5 separate regions of the Homo sapiens genome follow, and regions 2, 3, 4 and 5 are each linked to region 1. Evidence: promoter capture Hi-C in 16 types of primary human blood cells and fetal thymus (Javierre and others, 2016). All regions are on one chromosome and are shown on one strand. The core of a region is centred on a gene start or on the middle of the fragment in contact, and the rest is flanking DNA. Distances in the headings are between cores, read along the strand shown.

Region 1 (4,401 bases), core at 1,068-3,567:
AGTATCGAAAGATGACTTGGCTGGGTATGGTGGCTCAAGCCTGTAATCCCAGCACTTTGGGAGGCCAAGATGCGCGGATCCCTCGAGGTCAGGCGTTCCAGAGCAGCCTGGCCAACATGGTGAAGCCCTGTCTCTACTAAAAATACAAAAATTAGCCAGGCATGGTGGCATGTGCCTGTAGTCCCAGCTACTCGGGAGGCTGAGGCAGGAGAATCGCTTGAACCAGGAGGCCAGGAGGTAGGGGTTGCAGTGAGCCGAGACTGAGCCACTGCACACCAGCCTGGGTGATGGAGTGAGACTCTGTCTCAATTAAAAAAAAAAAAAAAAGGTCGGGCACGGTGGCTCACACCTGTAATCCCAGCACTTTGGGAGGCTGAGGCGGGCGGATCACGAGGTCAGGAGATGGAGACCATCCTGGGTAACACAGTGAAACCCCGTCTCTACTAAAAATACAAAAAAAAAAATTAGCTGGGCGTGGTGGTGGGCGCCTGTAGTCCCAGCTACTAGGGAGGCTGAGGCAGGAGAATGGTGTGAACCCAGGAGGGAGAGCTTGCAGTGAGCCGAGATCACACCACTGCACTCCAGCCTGTGCCACAGAGCAAGCCTCTGTCTCAAAAAAAAAAAAAAAAAAAAAGTTAAAAAAAACCCCTAATATTTAACTTATTTGCTATGAAATTCGGCAAATAAGCTATTTTCCCCCCACTAGACTGAAAGATCACTGAGGGCAGAAGACCTTTTCTGACTTTTCATTGCTATATTGTCAGCTACAGGGTTAGGCATTCAATAAACATTTATTGGGTGAATTCTAACTTGGATTTACCCCCTGGTTTAAGTCCTTGACTGATTACAATCTGACCGTGAAGGCTGGGCAGGAGAAACAGGTAGTGTCCAGATTCTCCGTAAATTCCAGAAAGATCCAAATGTGGTCCATCAGCAGGTGATGGGGCATAGTTTTGGTTCACACCAACTTACCCCACACTGACTTGAAGTATAGTCCATGAATTCAGCCATTGTTCTGAAGGAAGCACTAAGGGTTGGGGGTCTCTCTTCTCTCTATTTGAATAAATGGCACGTCACAGGTTAGCTCTAGGATTCCCTACTGGAGAATGAAGCCATTTTGGAAATAGTCTCCTTTTTACTTTTGGAAAGGCTCTGCAAGTTTATGTCAGAAAGAACGATGTTATTGAGAAAGAATTCCAACTCTAAAAGATAGACATGCAATTTATCCAGGATCTAAGAGACAGGCTTGCAGGCTTTCCTCTACTATCAGATGATAGCTGTAAGATTTTTTTTTTTTTTTTTTTTTTGAGACGGAGGTTTCGCTCTTGTTGCCCAGGCTGGAGTGCAATGGCGCGATCTCGGCTCACCGCGACCTCCGCCTCCCGGGTTCAAGCGATTCTCCTGCCTCAGCCTCCCTAGTACCTGGGATTACAGACATGCGCCACCACGCCCGGCTAATTTTGTATTTTTAGTAGAGACGGGATTTCTCCATGTTGGTCAGGCTGCTTTCGAACTCCCGACCTCAGGTGATCCGCCCGCCTCGGCCTCCCAAAGTGCTGGGATTGCAGGCATGAGCCACCGCGCCCGGCTAATTTTTTTTTTTTTTTTTAAGTAACCAACCAGGGCTGAACACTACCGTTATTCTACAGCTACCCAACAAGAATCTGTCAAATGTAAAGCGTTTTGAAAGGACTTTTCCATTCATTGTTCTGATCCTTTCCAGCTTCCGCTAAGGGAAGGTTTCCTCAGCTGCTTCTGCGCTGCGCACCCCTGGCTCCCAGCGGGCTACCGCGGCGCGAAGGACTGGGGCGGCCCCCGGCACAGCGACCCTCACCTCTCCCGGGAGAACGCGCTGCGGGCCGGCTGCCGGCTGTTTCTCTAGGTGGGGCGCCTCCCGGGCAAGGACCCCCATGCAGCCTTTGGGACGCTCCAGGGCATGCCAGTCCACCGCCCTCCTCTTGGCCCTCTCCAGCACTTCTAGAGCCAGCCTTGCTGAACGCTGCAGGGAACGTCGGTCCACCCCATTCAGCGCTGCGGCCGCCAAACAGTTGTCCATGGCTCCCTGAGTGGGCACACAACGTACAAACGCCGGCGGGTCAGCTGGGCCGCGGCGACCCTGCTCCAAATCCGGGTGGGAGCCCCAGCCTCGACCTCCCTGGAGACCACCGCTCCTGGTCCGCCCCCAACGCACACTCCAGCGGGAGCCCAGCCAGGACTAGGCCTAGCGCGCCCGCCCCTTCCATTTTCATCTACCCCTTCCGCTACTTAGGGAGCCCCCTCACCCGGCTCACTCGTCAAGGCGCATGCGCGCAACGCTATTCTAGGAAGAGGGACCAGGCCTAGCGCTCCCGGCGGCGCCGGCGCAGCTGGGCCATTGGCGGAAGGCGGGAGAGGCGGGAGAGGCGGGAGAAGTGGGGGAGGCGGGGCGGCTGGGCGGCCAAACACGCCTTCTGCGTCCCAGCCTTGGCGTCTGCGCGCGAGTTGCCTGGTTAACTGCTGAGCGCTGGAGGCGGGGCGCCGGGCGCTGGGGGCCGGGGGTCGGGGGTCGGGGGCCGGGGGTCGGGGGTCGGGGGCTGGGGGCTGAGGACTGAGTCGAGCCAGCAGCCCAGGGCATCTGTCCACGCTGTCAGAGGAGCCTCTGGGCGTGGGGCTGGCCCTTAGAGGGCTACTGCGCTGCTTAACTTGGTGGGTATAAAGGCAGGTCTCCTGTTGAGCTAAAAAATTATGGGGTACCAGCTAGGTAGGCAACATAGCGAGAACCCGTGTAGACACACACACACACACACACACACACACTAGCCAGGAGTGGTTATGGGGTACCAGCTAGGTAGGCAACATAGCGACAACCCGTGTCCACACACACACACACACACTAGCCAGGAGTGGTTATGGGGTACCAGCTAGGTAGGCAACATAGCGACAACCCGTGTCCACACACACACACAGTAGGAGGAGTGGTGGCGCGCATCTGTAGTCCCAGGTACTCGGGAGGGTCGAGGTGGGAGGATCGCTTGAACCCGGGAAGCGGAGGTTGCAGTGAGACGAGATCGCGCCACTGCACTCCAGCCTGGGCGACAGAGGAAGACTTCGTCTCAAAACAAAAACATCATGGGGAATAAGGCAAGTGCCTCCCGCGCCTCTTTCTGCTTGGTCTACATTTTGGGGTGTCGCTACTCTTGTTTGAGGAGGTGATTAGGCCAAACTGTGTGGCTGCCAAGGTGGCCTTTGGAGAAGGGAACAGCTCGGGATTGAGGCGAGACGGAGGCGGGGCTGTCTGCAGATGTTCCTGGCCCCCGGGGCAGGGGGCGCCTGAGAAGTTGTAGGGTCTCTCATAATCCCTCAGCGCAGCTCTCTCTCCCCTCCAGTGGGAAGTACGGATTCACATATTTTTGGAGACCTGTTCTCTTGGGGTCTGACTCCATCTTTTAGGAAGACTGCACCATGTTTAAGTAAGGAACTGTGAATGCTTACTTAAACCATGTTTAAGTAAGGACCTGTCACTCCACTCCGCTGGTTATTTGGTAGGAGATACAGCCCAGGCTCTCACTGCTAATTAGTGACTCAGCCGCACCACCCAGCGCAAAGCAAAGCGCCGATGCTTAGGAAGGTCCACTTTGAGGGACACGCTCAGTGGGGGTCACTTTAAGGAACACAAATAAATCCTCCTTTAAGTCTCCTCTGTGGTTCATGAAAAAGGAGAGAAACTCCATCCTCACCTAGTCTCAACAGATGGCTTGATGAGCAATTATCAGGTACCAGGTGAGTAGTAGCCGACCAATACGACCTCCTTCTATGCTACTTAACTTTTGCAAATTTCCTGCTTTCCCCTTATAAAAAAGAATAACAGTGAGTGAAACCCTACATTATTCTTGAGATGATTTTTTTTTCATTTTATTGGTATTCCAAAACATTTCCTTCAATAAGGGTTTATCAAGTGCCTCCTTTAGAACATAGTGGTTGTACGTGCATGGGGTCCTGTATATCCACTCGGGAGAGCTGGTTTGAATTCTGGCTCTGCCATCTTTTTTTTTCCATTTCTTCTCCTTCTCCTTCTCCTTCTCCTTCTTCCTCCTCCTCCTCCTTCCTCTTCCTCTTCTTCCTCTTCTTCCTTCTTCCTTCTTCTTCTTTTTTGTTTAATAAAGAAACGAGGGTATCACCCTGTCAGCCAGGCTGAAGTGCAGTGGCACGATCTCGGCTCACTGCAGCCTCGACCTCCTGGGCTCAAGCGATCCTCTTCTTCAGCCACCACGCCCTGCAAATTTTTTAAATGTTTCGTAGAGACAGGGTCTCCCTATGTTGCCCAGGCTCTCTGCCACTTTTTTGCTCTGTGGTTCTGGGCAAACATATTACTTCTTTGAGCCTCACTTTTCCTCATCTCTATATCTGGGGATTCCAATAGTA
Region 2 (4,309 bases), core at 966-3,465, 190 kb after region 1:
GCATAAATGTTCTCCCTGCCGTGATGTGGACAGTGATGCTCTGGTCCTGTTTTAGGGGATCAGAAGACTGTGTCCTGGCATTCTCCCTTCTTAGTTCCCCCACCTCCTCACTCCTGCAGGGCATATGTTGGGGAAGGATCAAGAAGTAGAGAATCCATCCCCAACACCTCCCTAAGTGCCCCACAGTGGGGTAGGCTGGAGAAAACATGCAGGGGGTGCCGGGTTTGCTATTTGGCTTCTTGCGACAGGGCTGCTGGGCCAGCTCCGCTTAGTCAGGGCTCTGGAATGGAGACAAGTCATTTTAATAGCATGACTGTGTTACAGGAAAAGGTCTGTTCCATTGCTGGGGACTCTGCTTGGAGTTGGGAATCACTTAATCCAGTCCCAAATCCCAGTGACCCATCTTTGACTCATAAGTTTACAGAGATTTATATTGCTCCCACTGCAGTCTATTTAGCTGTCACTGAAATCCCTCCTTCACACCCACACCCTAACTCTGTTAGAGCATTTCCTAAATTCGTTGTGGTTCTGCATAAGTAGATGCCACAATGTGGAGGGAGCTCCACTTTGGAAATGGAGGAATCTGCAAGCATATAGGGATTGGCTCTTCTCCCGTGTCCTCTCTAGGAAAGCTTCACTCTCAGCAGCCTTTGTTCCTCGTCCTCCAGCTCCTTCTTCTGCCTGCTTCCTGAGGAGTGGGGTCTGAGTTCCTCTGGGGCGTAAGGCACATTCAGACATCTGTAGAACAAGTGTGGGACTCAGTGGCACCCAGGCTCAATCCTGCTGCTGAGCAGAGGTGCTGGAGTGAGTCCTGCTCTGCAGCAGGAAAATAGGGAAAGGGGTGCAGAGAGGGCTGTGTTCTGAGTTCCCCAGGGACCTGTTCACCCCACGGATTCTGCCACCAGGATTGAGCTAGGACTGACCCGGCCCATGGTGTTACTCTATTTTAGAAAATGTGTGTGTTGGAGGGGTGGGGGCAGGAGATACAGCTTGTGGAAAGGAGTGCCACTCAACATCTTCAAGGGCAGGGATTCTGTTTTGGACTTTTCTGAGATTTTCTGGTAATGCCAATACAATGCCCGCTGCCAGAGATTTTAGAACTAGTCCTGAGAAGCAAGAACTCCCCTCACCCCCACCCTTTGGCCCAGACTCCTTCCAAGCCTTTCACACCTCCCCTGTGTCACAGCAGGAGAGTTTGTTCCAAAAGGGGAGTGTTGATGGTTCTCTTTTTGCTGAGATCAGCGGTAGAGGGAATAGACACTACAGTAGGAGAGTCATCGAACAGATCATTACTGAACACTTCCTCCTTGCTAATCACTGTTCCGTTCCGAGGTTGCCTCAGTGAACAACACAAAACCCTGCCCTAAAAGACTTGTTGAACGGCATCGTAGGTGAGAAGGGGGCCTGGCGAAGCCCTGCTCCCTACGGTTCTGTGAGTTCCTCCATGCCCACCCTCCAAAGTAGGTCCCCAGGGAGATCCCCTGAGAGTTGGGTGAAGGGACAGCCATGTGACCTGAAAACCCTTCCTACCTTGAACTGTGTTATCTCTGGGGTGTTTGCAGCAGAGGGAAGGGAGCCAAGGAAAGACTCTTGTTGCTGGCTTTGTCCTCTGGCTGGGCACAGGCAGGGGTGGCTGAGCCAGTCTTGTGCAATCCCTGAATTTATAAAGCAGAGGCCAGGCTGAGCTGGGCTGGGGGTGGGGGGTTGGGGGGGGTGGGGGGGTGGGTCTGCTTCTGGACTTGGAGCCAGGATCTGTTTGTAGCCTCCCCACTGCAGACGGGCAGCTGCATGACTCATGAGCTGAGGGGCCAGGCAGAAGCCATTCTCTTTGGTTCACAGGAATTCTGCTTGTTTATTTGTGTGTGTGTGAGTTCGTGTGTTTCCTTCTTCCCTTCTCCCCCTTCTCTAACTCTTCCTCCTCTGCAGGAGATCTGCCCAAGGAGAATCCATATGAGGATGTGGACTTAAAGAGCCGAAGAGCAGGACGAAAATCCCAGCAACTGTCTGAGAACTCCTTGGACTCTTTGCACAGGATGTGGAGTCCTCAGGACAGGAAGTACAACAGCCCGCCCACACAGGTAACTCAGCCCTGACATCGGCCTGTAGGGTTAGCGTGAGGGCCACAGTGGGGGCCTGCTCTTCCAAGACTTGGGCCCAGCTTCCACTCAGGCTTTTACCCTCACTAGTACTTGATAAAGGGTCTACGGCCATACCACCCTGAACGTGCCCGATCTCGTCTGATAAAGGAGGTCTCCTCAGCAAAGGACTGTGCACTCAAGGATGTCCACCATGTTGAAACCTCTGTGGACAATTGGCACCTGCTCTGAGGGGCATCCTGTCCTATCTTCTTTCCCTTCCTACACAAGCTCTGAGCTGCAAAACTCAGCCAGGAGCCCTTGCAGTCTCCTCTCTGATTATTTATCACCCTGTGGGAAACAGGAAGACAGGGCCCTAGTGGGAGTCTTGGCATTCTGCAACTCTGCCAGAAGTCATCTCAGTACTGGCATTAGGGGGCTAGGTGTAGGTCCCCAAACCACATTTGGAGAGCCAGACAGGTGTCTGTGACACCTGGAGCCAGTCCTGTGGGAGAGAGTAAGCATGAATCTTTAAGGAATGGATGGGGAGAAGGCAGAATGACAGGAAAGGTGAAAAGCCAAAGGAAGCTCTTGGACTTCAGCTCCTTCTGTCCTTGTCCAGGATGTCAGGAGGCAGGTGGAGAGGCTTCTCTGACCTCCCCAGGTAACTCTAATTCTCTTTGCAAATGGAAGGACCTGGATATTATATAGCATTGGCCAGATAATATAAAATGATAATATAAAAATGATTTCTTCTGCCTTTGGAATAAGGTGTTTGTTTTTATAAAAGATTTACCCCATAGCTGGGAGTGGTGGCTCACGCATGTAATCCTAGCACTTTGGGAGGCCAAGGTGGGCAGATCATCTGAGGTCAGGAGTTCAAGACCAGCCTGGCCAGTGAAACCTCATCTCTACTAAAAATACAAACATTAGCTGGGCATGATGGCGCACGCCTGTAGTCCCAGCTGCTTGGGAGGCTGAGGCAGGATAATTGCTTGAACTCGGAAGACGGAGGTTGCAGTAAGCCAAGATCGCTCCACTGCACTCCTACCTGGGCGACACAGCGAGACTCCGTCTCAAAAAAAAAAAAAAAGATTTACCCTCTAATTAGGACTCTTTTCAAACAGGCTTCCCCTGAGTTTGCATTGCCAGATTGATTGGGTGAGAACAGGAAATTGGGGGCTGTGGAGGAAGGAGGATTTGCTGAGGAGTGAGGAGAGGCAATTCCAGAACCAGACAGTGGTTGGGTGTCTGTGGGATACTTGCCTCCTGACAGGGTCCGCGACAAGGATGGTGCCCTGGGATGAGAGGTCAGCGCATATGGAGAGAGGCAGAGAGTAGATCAGGGCTGGGGAGAGGGCAGCCAGGGCCTTGTGGGTATGGGATCCAATTCAGTGTGAGGCCTGCCTGGCCCAGCTTTGGTGGTCAGAGCCCAGAGCCCCTGTGTTCTCCATGGGAGCAGTTAGGAGGGCCAGGCTGCAGGATCTCCCAGCCCAGCAGGCTGGCCAGTAGGTTATGGCCTCTGCTGTCAGAAACCTTTTAGGATTGGCTCGGGAGCAGAGGTCCGGAAGACTGGTTCCATCACCCAGGCCCAGTAATTCTTGTCCCATAGCTCAGGAGGACCCCCGCAAAATTCCCACTTAGTCTTCTTTTTCCACTCAGATGAGAGCACAGGTGTTTTTAGCCTCTGCTTTCGTTTTTTGCTGGCAGTAGTGAAGCTTCCTTTAGGGAAGGCAAGTATCTAATCTATCCCTGACCTGGCTGATTAGCAGCTAAAGTCTTAAGAGAGGGATGGAAGTTCCAGGGCAAGATGGCGGGGATCCAGGGATGCCGGCCCTTGGCCTCTGTGTCCCCATCCCAGCAGACAGACACTGGCCAAGGCCTCTGTGGCAAGCCCCTCTCGCACGTCCTCTCCCCCACGCCAGCTTTCCCTGAAACCCAACAGCCAGTCCCTGCGCAGTGGGAACTGGTCAGAAAGGAAGAGCCACCGGCTGCCACGATTACCCAAGAGGCACAGCCATGACGACATGCTGCTGCTGGCTCAGCTGAGTCTGCCGTCCTCACCCTCCAGCCTCAATGAAGACAGCCTCAGCACCACCAGCGAGCTGCTGTCCAGCCGCCGGGCCCGCCGCATTCCCAAGGTACCCTCCCCAGAGGCAGCCCACTGGAGCCGGGCAGGTGGGCGGGCAGGCAGCCAGCCTTTCTCTCTCTTTCCTGGCTTCCTTCCTTCCCTA
Region 3 (4,696 bases), core at 46-2,545, 210 kb after region 1:
GACTAGGTGGAAAGGTAGCACCCCTGTGTGGGTGAGGGAGCAGGGTTTGGGAGCACACAGATGGCAGGATTGAGAACCCTGTGGAGGGCTTGGCCTGAGGGGAGAGGGAGGGATATTTCTTCCTTTGCAACAGCCAAGACTGTGCAGGTGCCGGGATATGTAAAGGGGAAAGGTTAAGAAATTGAGATTTTTGGTGGATGGTTGCATTTCTTCTGGAGGGGGAGGCAAAGCCATCTCAATGGGATGCTGAGTTTGAGGAAAGAGCTGCTGTGAGGAAGGGGCAAGAGCACTGACCGGGGACAGTGTGAGGAATGCTGAGCCAGCCAGCGAGGGTCCTGTGGAGGGTGTCCCCTGGAGAAGGCAACTGCAGTGGCCCAGGGCTGGGCAATGGGAGGGCTGGGGAGAAGGATGTGATGGGGGCACTGAGGTGCAGAGAGGAGAGTGGGTGAGGAAGGCTGGCCAGCCCACACCGGGAAACAGATGATGTGCAGGGCCTGGAGGTGCCAGGGAAGTCGGGGAGCTGGTTTAGGAGGAGTAAGAAAAGAGCTGGATGGGTCACAGGTCTTGGTCTGAAATGCTGGCATTTATGATTTTAGAGGTAGAGGTGTCGAGAAGGTCTGGTGGTGGCCATGGGAGGGGTGGCAGAAGTGATGGTCACTGGACGTGAGGCAGTTTAGGAAGTAAGAAGTCGGAGCTCTTCTAGACAGCCAAGGTTTAAAAAAGAAAAAAGTTTTATGTCAGTGGTGGTTAGGGGGTGACACAGGCAAGGCACAAGTGATACGGCTCCGATGAGTGCAGGAACACTAGGGTTTTTGGTTCTTATGCTGGTTTAGATAAAACGACACCGACACACGTGGAGTGGTTTTAAGGAGCGGAGAGTTTAATAGGCAAGAAGGGAAGGAGAAAGGCAGAAAGAAGAAAGTACAGAGACAGAGGGAGAGAGGCTCCAAAGCCGAGAGAGGGAACCCCAAGTGTTGTGGATACCAGCCAGTTTGATAAGAAGGCTGGAGGAGGCGGTGTTTGATTTGCATAGGGCTTAGGGGATTGGTTTGACCAGGCATGTCATTCATGTAGCCCCTCCCCCCCCCCCCCCCGGAAGCTGGCCTTCCCATCCTAGCCTTTTAATATGCGAATGTAGGGCGCCTGATGTTCTACACACGTGGGAATATGCGGGGCAGCCATGCTGCTAGGCACCTGTAGGGGCAAGGGCAAGAGGACAACGGTGGGAATTGCCATGTTGGGTGGACCCAATTTCTAATGGTCTTCATTTGCATATCAAAGGTTGCCTGCCTGGCTCTAAGAGCCGGGGCTTTCTTTCCAGACAAGAAACATTTTTGAGCTGCTTTAAAGGAAATGAGGTACAGTGGCTCACGCCTGTAATCCCAGCACTTTGGGAGGCCGAGGTGGGCAGATCACAAGGTCAAGAGATCGAGACTCTCCTGGCCAACATGGTGAAACCCTGTATTAGCTGGGCCTGTAGTCCCAGCTACTCAGGAGGCTGAGGCAGGAGAATTGCTTGAATCCAGGAGGTGGAGGTTGCAGTGAGCGGAGATTGTGCCACTGCACTCCAGCCTGGGAGTGACACTCTGTCTCAAAATAAATAAATAAATAAAAATTTAAAAATTTTTTTAAAAAAAGGAAACAAAAACTTTTCCTCTCTCCATAAAATAATTTCTTAGTAAGTCCTACAACAACAGGATGGGTTATTGGCAACATGTTACATATTGTTTTGGTCAAAGAATCCATCCCAAGCAGTGGTTTCTCTAGAGTGGTCATTTGGACATTGATTAAGCCACCTTAAATGTCAGGTGCTCACAGGAGGGCAGTGAAGGAAAATCCCCGTTCTGGTTTGTCCTCCAATAAGTCCTGAATCCCTGGGGTATTTCCTTCCGTATGTATGAGGAAGCAGTTGAGAGGAAACCGAGAAATGAACTCCCGATTGCCTTCAGAGGGACAGGAACGCAGGCCCATCCTCAGCCCAGGAGAAGAAAGGAGGAAGAAAAACCAGAGCTGCTGACTTTTCCATAGAGCACCAGGGTTTAGAAAGGAAAACTGCCCCTCACTTGTTCCCATCACAGCCTCAATGCTTCTGTGTCTCACACTTCTAGGTGTTCTGTGGGCCCATCAGGCCCTTGTGAAGAAATCTAGCCCAACAGCTGGAATGAGCTGGGTACAGCAGTTCCAAGAGGCCCCTCCTGTGTACCAGCCATGGTCATTGTCAGCCAACAAAGCCCCTGACTGCCCAGCTTTGGTGCCCTGGCCTGGCCTGACCTTAGTGGCCCCTAAGAGAGCCTGGACCATGAGGTTTCTTTTCCTGAAGGTTCTACCCTCTAATTCAGGGCTGAGCTTCCTCTTTGCCACCCTGCCCCCCCCCAGGCCAGCTCCCGTGGGGCTGTGAATACAGCTATTGTTTCCTGTGGTTGCAGCTGCCTCTGAGCACATTCCAGGACCATTCTGGGAGGGACGATCCCAAGGTCTTGTTCTTGGCCTGGCCGGGTATTCAAGTTCTGCCAATCTGGGGTCTTGGAAAAGATGTCCTTCCTGTTCTGCCTGGGGTCTGCCTCTGGCTGGAGAGGGGAGGGGTAGGTCCAGCCAGCTCATGATCCGTTGCTGATGTTTTAGGTTTTCCACAAGTTCTTTGTCCCTCTTGCCTAGTTCTGATGTGGGGTGGGAGAGGGTACCCACGATCTGCATTCACTGGCCCTAGGGGTTTACAAAACCTACTGCCTCCTCAGCCACGGGCCCACTGATGTGCCCCCCAAACCCGAGACAGCCCTTTTCCAGATCTTTGTCAGATGACTGTCCTGCGGGTTGCTGCATACCTTCCTGGCTGTTTGCAGGTACATTTCCCTAAGAGAGTAGCATTGTTGTCCTTGAGGCGCTACGCAGTGGGAAAGCGGGGACTTTACCAGTCTGCAGGGTCCCTGAACCCCATTAGCATTTTTGTTGCACTGGGAGGTTTACGATCAAAGGCTGTCCTGAGCCTCCAGCGAGCTCTAAGTTCCTGGGCCTGGGCTCAGGTACTCTGTCTCTCTGTCTGCCCATCAGTACCCTCTCCAGCTGCTCCCACGCGGTGGTGGCCTTGCTCTACCCCTTCTCCTGGCAGCACACCTTCATTCCTGTCCTCCCGGCCTCCATGATTGACATCGTCTGCTGTCCCACCCCCTTCCTGGTTGGCCTGCTCTCCAGCTCCCTCCCCAAACTGAAGGAGCTGCCTGTGGAGGAGGTGGGCCACCGGGGGAACCAGCTGGGGGGAAGGGTGGAGGGGGAAGCAGGTGCTGGGATCTTACTTGTGGCCCCTCGGCCTCTTTACCAGGCTCTTATCCTTTCTCCCTGGGAGGTCTATCCCCGGCTGGAGTACTTCCTGTTAGCTGACCCTGGGAACCTGGGAGGTCTGGAGGCCTGGCAGAGGGCATTGCGGGACTCATGCCCTGAGCCACTCTGCTAATGACTCCTTTTCTCAGGCGCTGATGGTGAATCTGGGATCTGACCGATTCATCCGACAGGTAAGAGGGTGGGTGCTTGCTAGAGTTGGGCTCCTGAGCACCCTGCACCATCACACACACTACTCAACCTTCACAACCTGTTTGTTGAGCTCTCTCTCTGGGTTCAGTACTACTCACAGACTAGTCAAGGGTGGGGAGAAGCTGGTCTTGGAATCCTTGACCTTAGCAGGGTCCGCCTTTCCAGTGACATCATGAGCTTCTAGAAGGCAGTGTGGGAATTTGAAGAACACGGCCTGGGAGTCCACAGACTTGGCCACTGGACTTTGCCCCCTTTGAGCCACATGGTCTTAGGCCTCTAAATTCTTCTGAGCTCTAAAGGAGAGGTGGTGACAACACCTGCCTTGAAATGTTTGCTGGGGGTTACACAAATAACTATAGATTGTTATGTAACGTACAGGTTTGCAATCATTGTTGTCAACTACAAAAAGCCTTTGTTAGTCGTGGAAATCCTCCTGGCTCTCTACAAAGGAGCACAACCCAGTGCTCTCCCCTATGGAAATGTACTTATTGTCTGTTACACACCAATGACGGAGCTGAGGACTCCCTGGGTACCAGGCATAGTGATGTGGACACAGAAACAGAGTATAGAGACGAAACAACAGTCTAACTTCATTCCTGAGACACAGGCTGGCCACAGTCCCCCTGCCCCAAGCCAACTGTGCCTCCTGCCTGGAGCTGAAGATGGAGGAATTGGGGAGACCTAATCAGGAACCCCTGGCTGGTCCTGGTCACAGAGGCCAGTGAATGCCACACTGGCTCTACCCCCTTTTTTTTTTTTTTTTTTTTTTTTTTTTTGGAGACAGGGTCTCACTGTCATCCAGGCTGGAGTGCAGTGGTACAGTCATGACACTGCAGCCTCGACCTGCCTGGGCTCAGGTGATCCTCCCCATGTCAGCCTCCTAAGTAGCTGGGAGTACAGGTGCATGCCACCATACTTGACTAATTGTTTTTTTGTGTGTGTTTTGCAGATAGAGGGACCTGCTAAGTTGCCCAGGCTGGTCTCGAACTCCCTCCTGGGCTCAAGCGATCCTCCCGCTCAGCCTTCCAAAGTGTTGGGATTACTGGCGTGAGCCACTGCGCCTGACCCTCTACCACTTTTAATCTCTGTAATCTTGGGCAAGTTTCTTAACCTTTCTGTGCTTCAGTTCCTCATCTTAAAATGAGGTTGATGATAGTTATGAGGGTTACTG
Region 4 (4,684 bases), core at 1,809-4,308, 240 kb before region 1:
CTTCTTCTGGTATAGTGGCCTGATTTTGCCCTTGTCCTTGGCTCTTTAGTGTTATTGCATGTCAGGCTCTCTGGTCACCAGCTGTACTTAATGTGTGCCACATTCAGACAGTTCTATTAATTTATCTTAGGCTGCTTTCCTAGTCTGCCTAGATGCTGGGGAGCCTACTTTCTAATGGTTGTGGTAGATGGAAGGATGAATGGATTTCTAGAAGTTGAATTACTAAGTCAAAGACCATAAATATTTTAAGCTCTTATATTATCTGTTAGATACATTAATAGACCTTTTTTTTTTTTTAAATGGAGTCTCACCCTGTTGCCCAGGCTGGAGTGCAGTAGTGCCATCTTGACTCACTGCAATCTCTGCCTCCTGGGTTCAAGCAGTTCTCCTGCCTCAGCCTCCTGAGTAGCTGGGATTACAGGTGCCTGTCACCATGCGCGCCTAATTTTTGTATTTTAGTAGAGATGGGGTTTCCTCCTGTTGGCCAGGTTGGTCTCGAACTCCTGACTTCAGGTGGTCCACCCACCTCGGCCTCCCAAAGTGCTGGGGTTACAGATGTGAGCCACTGCGCCCAGTCAACCTTCTTTTTTTTTTTAAGTTTTTTAAATTAAAATTTTTTTTTCTTTTTGGCTCCCAACAGGAAACAATAGACCTTCTTAGAAGCAGTTAGTATAGGATTTGTAAGTCTCATTAATGTTGTTAGACATTTTTTTTTTCAAATATTTGTTATTTGGATGAATAAAACCTGGTATTTTCTAATTTTAGTTTTTATATATTTTAAAAATTGTCTTTGAAGTTGTTGGGTTTTAAGTTTATGAATTTTGTAGGAAGTACAAACATACAGCAAGCTTATTTTGACAGCTTGCTGATCTATAGCGAGGGTTTCCTACCATTCAGATGTTTGTTTTTTTTTTTCCCCAGAGTAGATCAAGTTTGTGAATAGAAACAAAATAGACCCTCAGTATTCTCATGGGGTATATCTTAAGACCTTAAATCTTCACATTAATTCCATAGCACAAAATTTTCCTCAGAAAGTATAACTTAAAAAGTTAAATGATCTTTTCAGAAGCATCTCGTGTAGCATAGTTATTAAGAGCAATGGTTTTGACATTAGATAGACTTAAGCTTGAATCCCAACACTCTGCTTACTAACGGTGTGACCTCTTACAAGTTAACTTAACCTTTCCGATCCTCAATTTCTTCTTCTCTACAGAAAATAGGGATAGAGATATCTACCTTATTAGACTGTTGGGAGCATTAATTAAAATATTGTATTTTGAACATCTGACATAGTGCTTAGTTCATAGTAAGCCTCAAGACCTGGTAGCTTCTATCATTATTATAGAACCAAAGTCATTTATAAAATTATTGTAATCTTACTAAAACAAACATACCACCTTTATATTATTTTATTATCTGCATGGGAACATTTACCATGAATCTGAAATAAAGTTATCACTTAACAAGGGTTATGATGTACTGAACGATGATTAGAAAGAGACAAAGCAGTTGCTGGGTGACCAGCTGGGCTCACTCATTACCCAGGTGAATTACTCCCTCACATCAGGCTTGCAAATACTATTCAGGTTTGTGCCTTGGCAAAATGACAAATTGCTACATATCTCAAATGGTTTAAAGTGCAGTTCTTACCTTTCCAAACGCCAAGGTTCTATTATATTGACTGTAGTTTATTTCAGCCATGCAGTTAAGTACCAGCCTACCTTTCTGCACATTTCTTCAACTATACCTTCAATAGTAAATCCTTGTTATAGTGATGACTTACTCTCCCTGGCCTGCACTAACAACTTATAAGGTAGCCAAAGATACCACAGTTTCCCCCACTTAACAGAGAAGGAAACTGACATTCAGAGAAGTTCACCAAACTGCTTTGCCTAGTTCACCAAGTAGCAAAATCAGGACTAGAACAATATTTAAAGGAATAACTTTAAATATTTTAGGAAATTCAGGAGCTAAGATGGAAGCTTATAGGCTGGATATCCACTCCTCTGTGCAAAAGCCATCAAGCTGACATAAAACCAGCAGACCATTTAGAGGATGATAGGTCATTTGCTTCTTTTTTTTTTTTTTTTTTTTTTTTTTGAGAGGGAGCCTCATTCTGTCACCCAGGCTGGAGTGCAGCGGCATGATCCTGGCTCACTGCAACCTCTGCCCCCCAGGTTCAACTCCCTCCACCTCCCAGGTTCGGTTCGAGTGATCCTCTTGCCTCAGCCTCCCGAGTAGCTGGGACAGCAGGCGTGTGCCACCACTCCCGGCTAATTTTTGTATTTTTAGTAAGGGTTTTGCTGTGTTGGCTAGGCTGGTCCCGAACTTCTGACCTCAAGTGATCCGCCCGCCTTGGCCTCCCAGTGTTGGGGTTGGGATTACAGGTGTGAGACACTGTGCCTGGCCTGCTTTTTTCTTTCTTTCTTTTTTGTTTTTTTTTTTTTGAGACGGCGTCTCACCCTGTCGCCCAGGCTGGAGTGCAATGGTGCGATCTAGGCTCACTGCAACCTCTGCCTCCCGGGTTCAAGTGATTCTCCTGCCTCCTGAGTAGCTGGGATTATAGCCATGCACCACCACATCCTGCTAATTTGTGTATTTTTAGTAGAGACAGGGTTTCACCATGTTGGCCAGGCTGGAATCGAACTCCTGACCTCAAGTGATCTGCCCGCCTCGGCTTCCTGAAGTGTTGGGATTACAGGTGTGAGCCACCGTGCCCAGCTGCTTTTTTCTTTCTTATCCACTGGTCCCTTACCAGGCTCTCTTTCCCATCTCCTTTCTATTCCCAGTAGGGGACCCTTTCCTTTTTCTGTTACCTTCCATTGTTTATATTTCTTCTGGATTTTAGTAAATTGATATATTTGCATACACTGTGTCCTGGATGTACATTGAAACAAGAAACAGTACATATATTTTTTTAGCAAAAGCTTCTATCTGTATGTTGAAAGCCTTGACCCCTGAAATCTAAACTGATAGGTGTTTCTCCCTTGCATTGGTTCCAGGGGAAATCAGCCTTATGGTCCCACCTGTTACATTATCAGGACAACCGGCAGAGAAAACTCACATCAGGAAGCCTCAGTACCTCAGGTAAGATAGTCTCTGCAATGGAGAGTCTGCCCTCTCTCCACTTTTCCATCACCCACTGGCGTGATCACTTTGAAGCAAACTATTCCAGGTCGAAGAAGCTTTTGCTCTGGAATGTTTTCTCTTTTAAATATGGAGCCACCAGACTCTCTGAACCACAGAGCATACCAAAACCATGGCATTTGCTTTCATTATGTATTTCTATACCCTTTTTATCGGCAAGATAGAAAATTTATTTGGGCAAGAGGCCAGTCTCAGAATGAATATGGGTTTTACTGTGGTACTGGTGTCCTGGGTTTGGAGCAGGCTGTTTTCAGAGTCTTTTGTTTTATTTCTCTGACATGGGCATTATGATTATCTATCCCGTTAGTCAAGAGAGCTGTTGGTCAGTGTCCTTCCTTGGACCTCCTCAAAGTCAAGTCCTGGTGTGAATGATCCCTTATACTTCCTTTCTGTTTCTAACCTAATAAAAATGTCAGAGTTTGTGGCAACTCCAGAGGTCATCTAGTCCAGGCCCTTTATTTTACAAGAGGAGGAAACGAGTCTGGAGAGGAATTGAATTTACTTAAGATCACAAAGTGAGCTCATGGAAGAGGCCAAACAAGAGCCAGTCATCTTATCTCCTGCTCTGATGTTTAGACCATCCTACAGTGTCCTTTCCAGGCTAGTCTCCCTGCTTCTTTTACTTCTTGGGTGCATCTCCCCTTCACATCATCCTTTGTTCTCCACTCTGCCAGACATTTGTTTACCTTTCTTGGATGTTTTTATCTTAATGGTAAAGGTGAGTTAAATGGGGTAAAAAGATGGGCATGAACTCGTTGCCCTTGAACTAGTTGACCTTAACTAGCACTGAACCTGGGGAGATAATTGGCTGAAAACTAGAGACAAGAGTTCTCCAGGTAGGCTTATGAGGAATTTTTTTGGCCCGCTTTCTGGATGTGTAAAAGCAGGTTCTTATTAAGAATGCTATAGAAGTCATTGCTGAGGAATAAACTGTAGCCAAAAATTCTCAACAGCTTGATGATGAAAATACTAAGTTTTAAACATTAGGCCAGACATGAGGATATAAAGGTATTATATCTTCTCTTCTCCTAGAGGTCCTATCATTCTGGAACAGAACCAGAACATTCTTGTTCTTTATATATTCTCTTGGGCTTTTGTAGGCTGCTGTGAAGCCAGAACAGGATGTGAGTAGTGGCTCCAAGTGGAAGCACTGCTTCTGTGGATCATGGTGAGAGCATGATAGACTAGGAGCCAGGAGGTCTGTGTTCCAGTACTGACTTTGCTGCTTGGTGACATAGGCAAAGCAGCTAACCTCTCTGAATGTCATTTTCCTTCTCTGTTAAGTGGGGGAAATTGTGATATCTTTTTTGGCTACCTTATAAATTGTTAGAGAATTAAATGAGATAATATCCATAAAAATGTAAAATTCGGTCTCTAGTAGGAATTTCATAAATATTTATGAAACAATCAATTAAAGTGTTACCAGTGTAACCACCTGTTTCCCATAGCAATTTGTGATTTAAGGTAAGGGAAGGGCAGTCAGCTATTTGGATATTCAGATCTCTTTGGACATGACCAACTTGTTTATTCTAGGAAT
Region 5 (3,905 bases), core at 1,038-3,537, 240 kb after region 1:
TTTTATAAATATTAATTGAGTGTGTACTATGTTCCTATGCTAGGTGCCAGGCAAGTGAGGGGCAGGTACAATTGTGAACAAAAGTCCTTCCCTAAGACTATGTCTAAGACATACATTAAACAAGCAAACAAATAATATATCACATATAACACAGCCTAGCAAAGAGTAGGTACTCTCATTACCTACTATTTCTCGCTCACATTTTCTCCCTAAAATGAGTGTTATTTTTATGATAATTTGTTCTGTACCCTTCATGCAAACAATCTTTGAAATTCTTATTCCCAATGTGATGTGGAATGACTTGTTCCATCATTCCTTAGCAAGGTTAAGGTACTCCAGTAAATATTTTCCTTTTCTTAGATATAGATGTGGTAAGATGTTAAAAGGAGGTGGTTTGTGGCAAGGCAATGTTTTAAAATTTAACTTTTTGTTAACATTTTAAAATGTAAATAAAAATAATTTCCTGGGTTTTGGAAAACTAAGATTTGGAGACATTAGACCCACATTCTTTTAAGTAAAGCACTTCGTTCATATAGATTGCCCAGCCCCTGTAGGCATTTGAATTTACTACCTTGGCTTAAGTACAGTCTTGCAAACTCTGTCCCCTACACTCTTCTAGGTCAGGGGAGATAAGAAGGAGAGGGAAGAACTAAGTTATGATGAAAGCAGCCATAAGAAGGGGGCAGAAATGGGGTCATTTGACCCTTCGTCTTCTCAAATCAGAAACTCATTGTGTGGCTGTGCCTTTAAATTAACCATTTACTTTCATGGAGTTACTTCAATTGCTCTTCTAAGACATAAATGAGATGCCTGTTTCTTTATATTCTTACCCTGTGTAGTACTTGCTGGTGGTGGAAAGCCATGCTACCTCCCTGAATTCCCAGGATTGTGATGCAAGGTCTAATGCAGTAGTTCTCCAAGTGTGGTCTGTAGACCTTATGGGGTGGGGGGTCCCTGAGACCGTTTCAGGGAGTTCACAGGTCAAACAATTTTAATAATAAAGCTAACGTGTTATTTGATCTTTTCACTGGGTTGACATTTGCACTGATGGTGCCAAAGCAATGTTATGTAAAACTGCTGATGTTTTGGGCACCAAACTGGAACAAAACCTTATATTCTTTACCACTAAGCATCTGCCGGTTAAAAAAAAAAAAAAGAAGTTTACCTTAAGAATGTCCATCCATGATGAAGTGGTAACAATTTTTATTAAATCTCAATCCTGAAATTCTTAAGTACTTTTTTAGATTTCTTTTTGATGTTCTGTGTGAAGAAAAAGTATTCCTACTACATATCAAAGTGAGAAACTGTGCTTGTGCTATTGAGTTGCAAGTTAAACTAGCCTTTTAAAAAATGAAACATAATGGACGATGTGGTGGCTCACGCCTGTAATCTTTGGGAAGCTGAGGCGGGTGGATCACGAGGTCTGGAGATTGAGACCATCCTGGCCAACATGGTGAAACCCCGTCTCTACTAAAAATACAAAAATTAGCTGGGCGTAGTGGTGCATGCCTGTAATCCCAGCTACTTGAGAGGCTGAGGCAGGAGAATCGCTTGAACCAGGGAGTCGGAGGTTGCAGTGAATCAAGATCACGCCACTGCACTCCAGCCTGACGACAGAGCGAGACTCTCTCAAAAATTAATAAATAAATAAATAATAATTAAAAAAATAAAAAGTGAAACATCAGTATTACACGAAAGGACAACTGGCAGGCCGGGTGCGATGGCTCATGCCTGTAATCCCAGCACTTTGGGAGGCCAAGGCAGGTGGATCATCTGAGGTCGGGAGTTTGAGATCACCCTAACCAACATGGAGAAACCCTGTCTCTACTAAAAATACAAAATTAGCTGGGTGTGGTGGTGCATGCTTGTAATCCCAGCTGCTCGGGAGGCTGAGGCAGGAGAATCACTTGAACCTGGGAGGTGGAGGTTTCTATGAGCCAAGATCACGCCATTGTACTCCAGCCTGGTTAACAAGGGCAAAACTGCATCTAAAAAAAGAATAACTGGCAGACAAACTGTGGTTATTCAGGCTTGGGAATTTGTCCGATATTTTCTCAAAAGTGAATTGACAGTATTTGTTGCCAATGATAAAATTCAAGCGTTCAAGCAAAAGTTAGAATTCTGGTAGTTTTTGCTGCCTCCATGAATTTGGCAGCTTCTCAATGCTTAAAAGAATTTTCTGATGAGATTCGAGGTGATTCTAAAGAATGTGATTTTTTGTTATTGTGTAATGAAATGTGTCGATATTTGGAACATCTGCATAAGTCATTGAACTGGTATTTTCCAAATGACCAATGCTTGGTGTTAAAAAACTGTGCCTGGGGAAAAGACTAGTTCAAAGAGCAAGATCAGCAGATTTTAATATAACAGAATAAGAAAAGTTTGGTTCAGAGTCTACCTTATAAATAACATTTAAGAAACTACTACCACTGTTGAATTTTGGTGTGGTATCAAAGAATATCCACAATTACCTGATAAGGCTATTAAAGTACTCCTATCTTTTCCAGCTGTATGTCTGTGTGAGACTGGATTTTCCTCATATACTGTGAACAAAACAACATATAACAGATTGACTGCAGAAACAGGTATGGGAGTCCAGCCGTCTTTTATTAAGCCAGATGTTAAAGGGTTTGGCACATATGAGAAACAATGTGACTCTTCTCATTAAATTAATTTTTTTGAAAGTAGTTGATTTTTTTTTTTTAGGCTGGGTGCAGTGGCTCACGCCTATAATCCCAGCACTTCGGGCGGCCAAAATGGAGGATCGCTTGAGTCCAGGAATTTGAGACCAGCTTGGGCTACATAGCAAGACCTGGTCTCTACAAAAATAAAAATGAAAATAAAATAGTCGGGTGTGGTGGCACATGCCTATAGTGCTAGCTGCCTAGGAGGCTGAAGCAAGAAGTTTGGTTGAGCTCAGAAGTTTGAGGCTGCAGTGAACTTCGCACGACTGCCCTCCAGCCTAGGCAACAGAGCAAGACCCTGTCTCAAAAAATAAATAAATAAATAAATGGAAAAAAGGAAATAGTTATTTTTTCCAAAAAGTATGTTATTCGTGTTAACATATAACAAGTTTATTATTTTATGAAAATTAATGTTTTAAAATTTTCTCAGCTTTAACTTCTAATGTGGTAAATAGCAATAGATTTTCTCAGCTTTAACTTCTAGTGTGGTAAATAGCAATAGTTCACATAAATGAACTCTCTTTGGGGTCTTCAATGAGTAAACATATGTAAAGGGATTCCCAAGACCAAAAAGTTTGAGAACTACTGGCCCAGTGAAATAAACTCAGGCATGCTTGAACCTTCTAATAGAGACTGTCCTCGTCTCTAATCATGCTGCTGCTATGGCTGTTTTCTGCTAAATAATGCCCAGAAGGAATTAGAAGTGCAGGTCTATCTATAGCTTTATGTAGTGGCATCTTTCTGGACCCCAGGCAGCCTGGCCTCTCCCAGCCCCATCACCCTTCCTCCTTCCTGAAGGCTTGGCTCCTAAAGACTTCAGACTGGAGTGAAATTTTTCTCAAACTTGCATAATTACCAAGACCCAGATTTGAATTAAATGATTTGTATTTTGTTTCTTAAATAAGTACAAATATAAAACTAGCTACAACTTCCTTTGGCTTTTAGCTGTTATACAACTATAAAACTGAATATAGTTTACAAATTGTAAAAAACTACAAAGCCATCAAATTAATAATATTAATTTCACATGTATGTGATGTTTTTCTAAACTAAACTATCATTATGACTTAAATGTGGTGCTCACTCTTGTAGCTAAGTTCAGCAAACATATGCCACAATGATGATGGCTCAGTTTTCCCACTTCCTTTCTCTGTTCCAAGTACTGTAAAACATGCATCATTTTGTGCCACAATGTTGTTTAGACTTCAAGTGGCAAGAATA

Evidence for each region. Contacts are between HindIII fragments. The CHiCAGO score rates a contact against its expected background, and 5 or more counts as called.
Region 2: a fragment that was not itself captured here is called in contact with the fragment with the promoter of AKIP1 in region 1 in 1 of 17 cell types (M1 macrophages); the score reaches 5.5 in M1 macrophages.
Region 3: a fragment that was not itself captured here is called in contact with the fragment with the promoter of AKIP1 in region 1 in 2 of 17 cell types (M1 macrophages and M0 macrophages); the score reaches 9.9 in M1 macrophages.
Region 4: a fragment that was not itself captured here is called in contact with the fragment with the promoter of AKIP1 in region 1 in 1 of 17 cell types (M1 macrophages); the score reaches 5.9 in M1 macrophages.
Region 5: a fragment that was not itself captured here is called in contact with the fragment with the promoter of AKIP1 in region 1 in 3 of 17 cell types (M2 macrophages, M1 macrophages and M0 macrophages); the score reaches 6.9 in M2 macrophages.

Annotation. Positions count from the first base shown.
Region 1 is chr11:8,909,105-8,913,505 of GRCh38, reverse strand. It overlaps AKIP1 (A-kinase interacting protein 1), which reads right to left and starts at 2,317. Exons shown (of 6, transcript NM_020642.4): 1 at 2,283-2,317; 2 at 1,835-2,062; 3 at 973-1,053. The coding sequence starts at 2,056. It also overlaps a transcript of DENND2B not described here. RefSeq lists enhancers at 2,013-2,102, 2,113-2,182 and a silencer at 2,273-2,552. The HindIII fragment of the contact is 8,527 bases long and covers 1-4,401 here.
Region 2 is chr11:8,715,510-8,719,818 of GRCh38, reverse strand. It overlaps DENND2B (DENN domain containing 2B), which reads left to right. Exons shown (of 20, transcript NM_213618.2): 5 at 1,927-2,078; 6 at 4,001-4,216. It overlaps LOC107984308 (a long non-coding RNA gene), which reads right to left and starts at 1,635. Exons shown (of 2, transcript XR_001748118.2): 1 at 1,531-1,635; 2 at 287-738. The HindIII fragment of the contact is 3,161 bases long and covers 635-3,795 here.
Region 3 is chr11:8,697,743-8,702,438 of GRCh38, reverse strand. DENND2B (DENN domain containing 2B) reads left to right here. Exons shown (of 20, transcript NM_213618.2): 15 at 3,049-3,226; 16 at 3,465-3,506. Among named protein-coding and RNA genes, the nearest start is that of SNORA3B, 15 kb to the right of the region's middle. RefSeq lists enhancers at 1-321, 2,684-3,469, 3,470-4,257 and a silencer at 3,183-3,477. The HindIII fragment of the contact is 8,144 bases long and covers 1-4,696 here.
Region 4 is chr11:9,150,761-9,155,444 of GRCh38, reverse strand. DENND5A (DENN domain containing 5A) reads left to right here. Exons shown (of 23, transcript NM_015213.4): 13 at 3,003-3,087; 14 at 4,681-4,684. Among named protein-coding and RNA genes, the nearest start is that of SCUBE2, 62 kb to the right of the region's middle. The HindIII fragment of the contact is 258 bases long and covers 2,930-3,187 here.
Region 5 is chr11:8,673,486-8,677,390 of GRCh38, reverse strand. TRIM66 (tripartite motif containing 66) reads left to right here. Exons shown (of 25, transcript NM_001388022.1): 4 at 2,508-2,585. Among named protein-coding and RNA genes, the nearest start is that of TRIM66, 7.2 kb to the left of the region's middle. The HindIII fragment of the contact is 5,452 bases long and covers 1-3,905 here.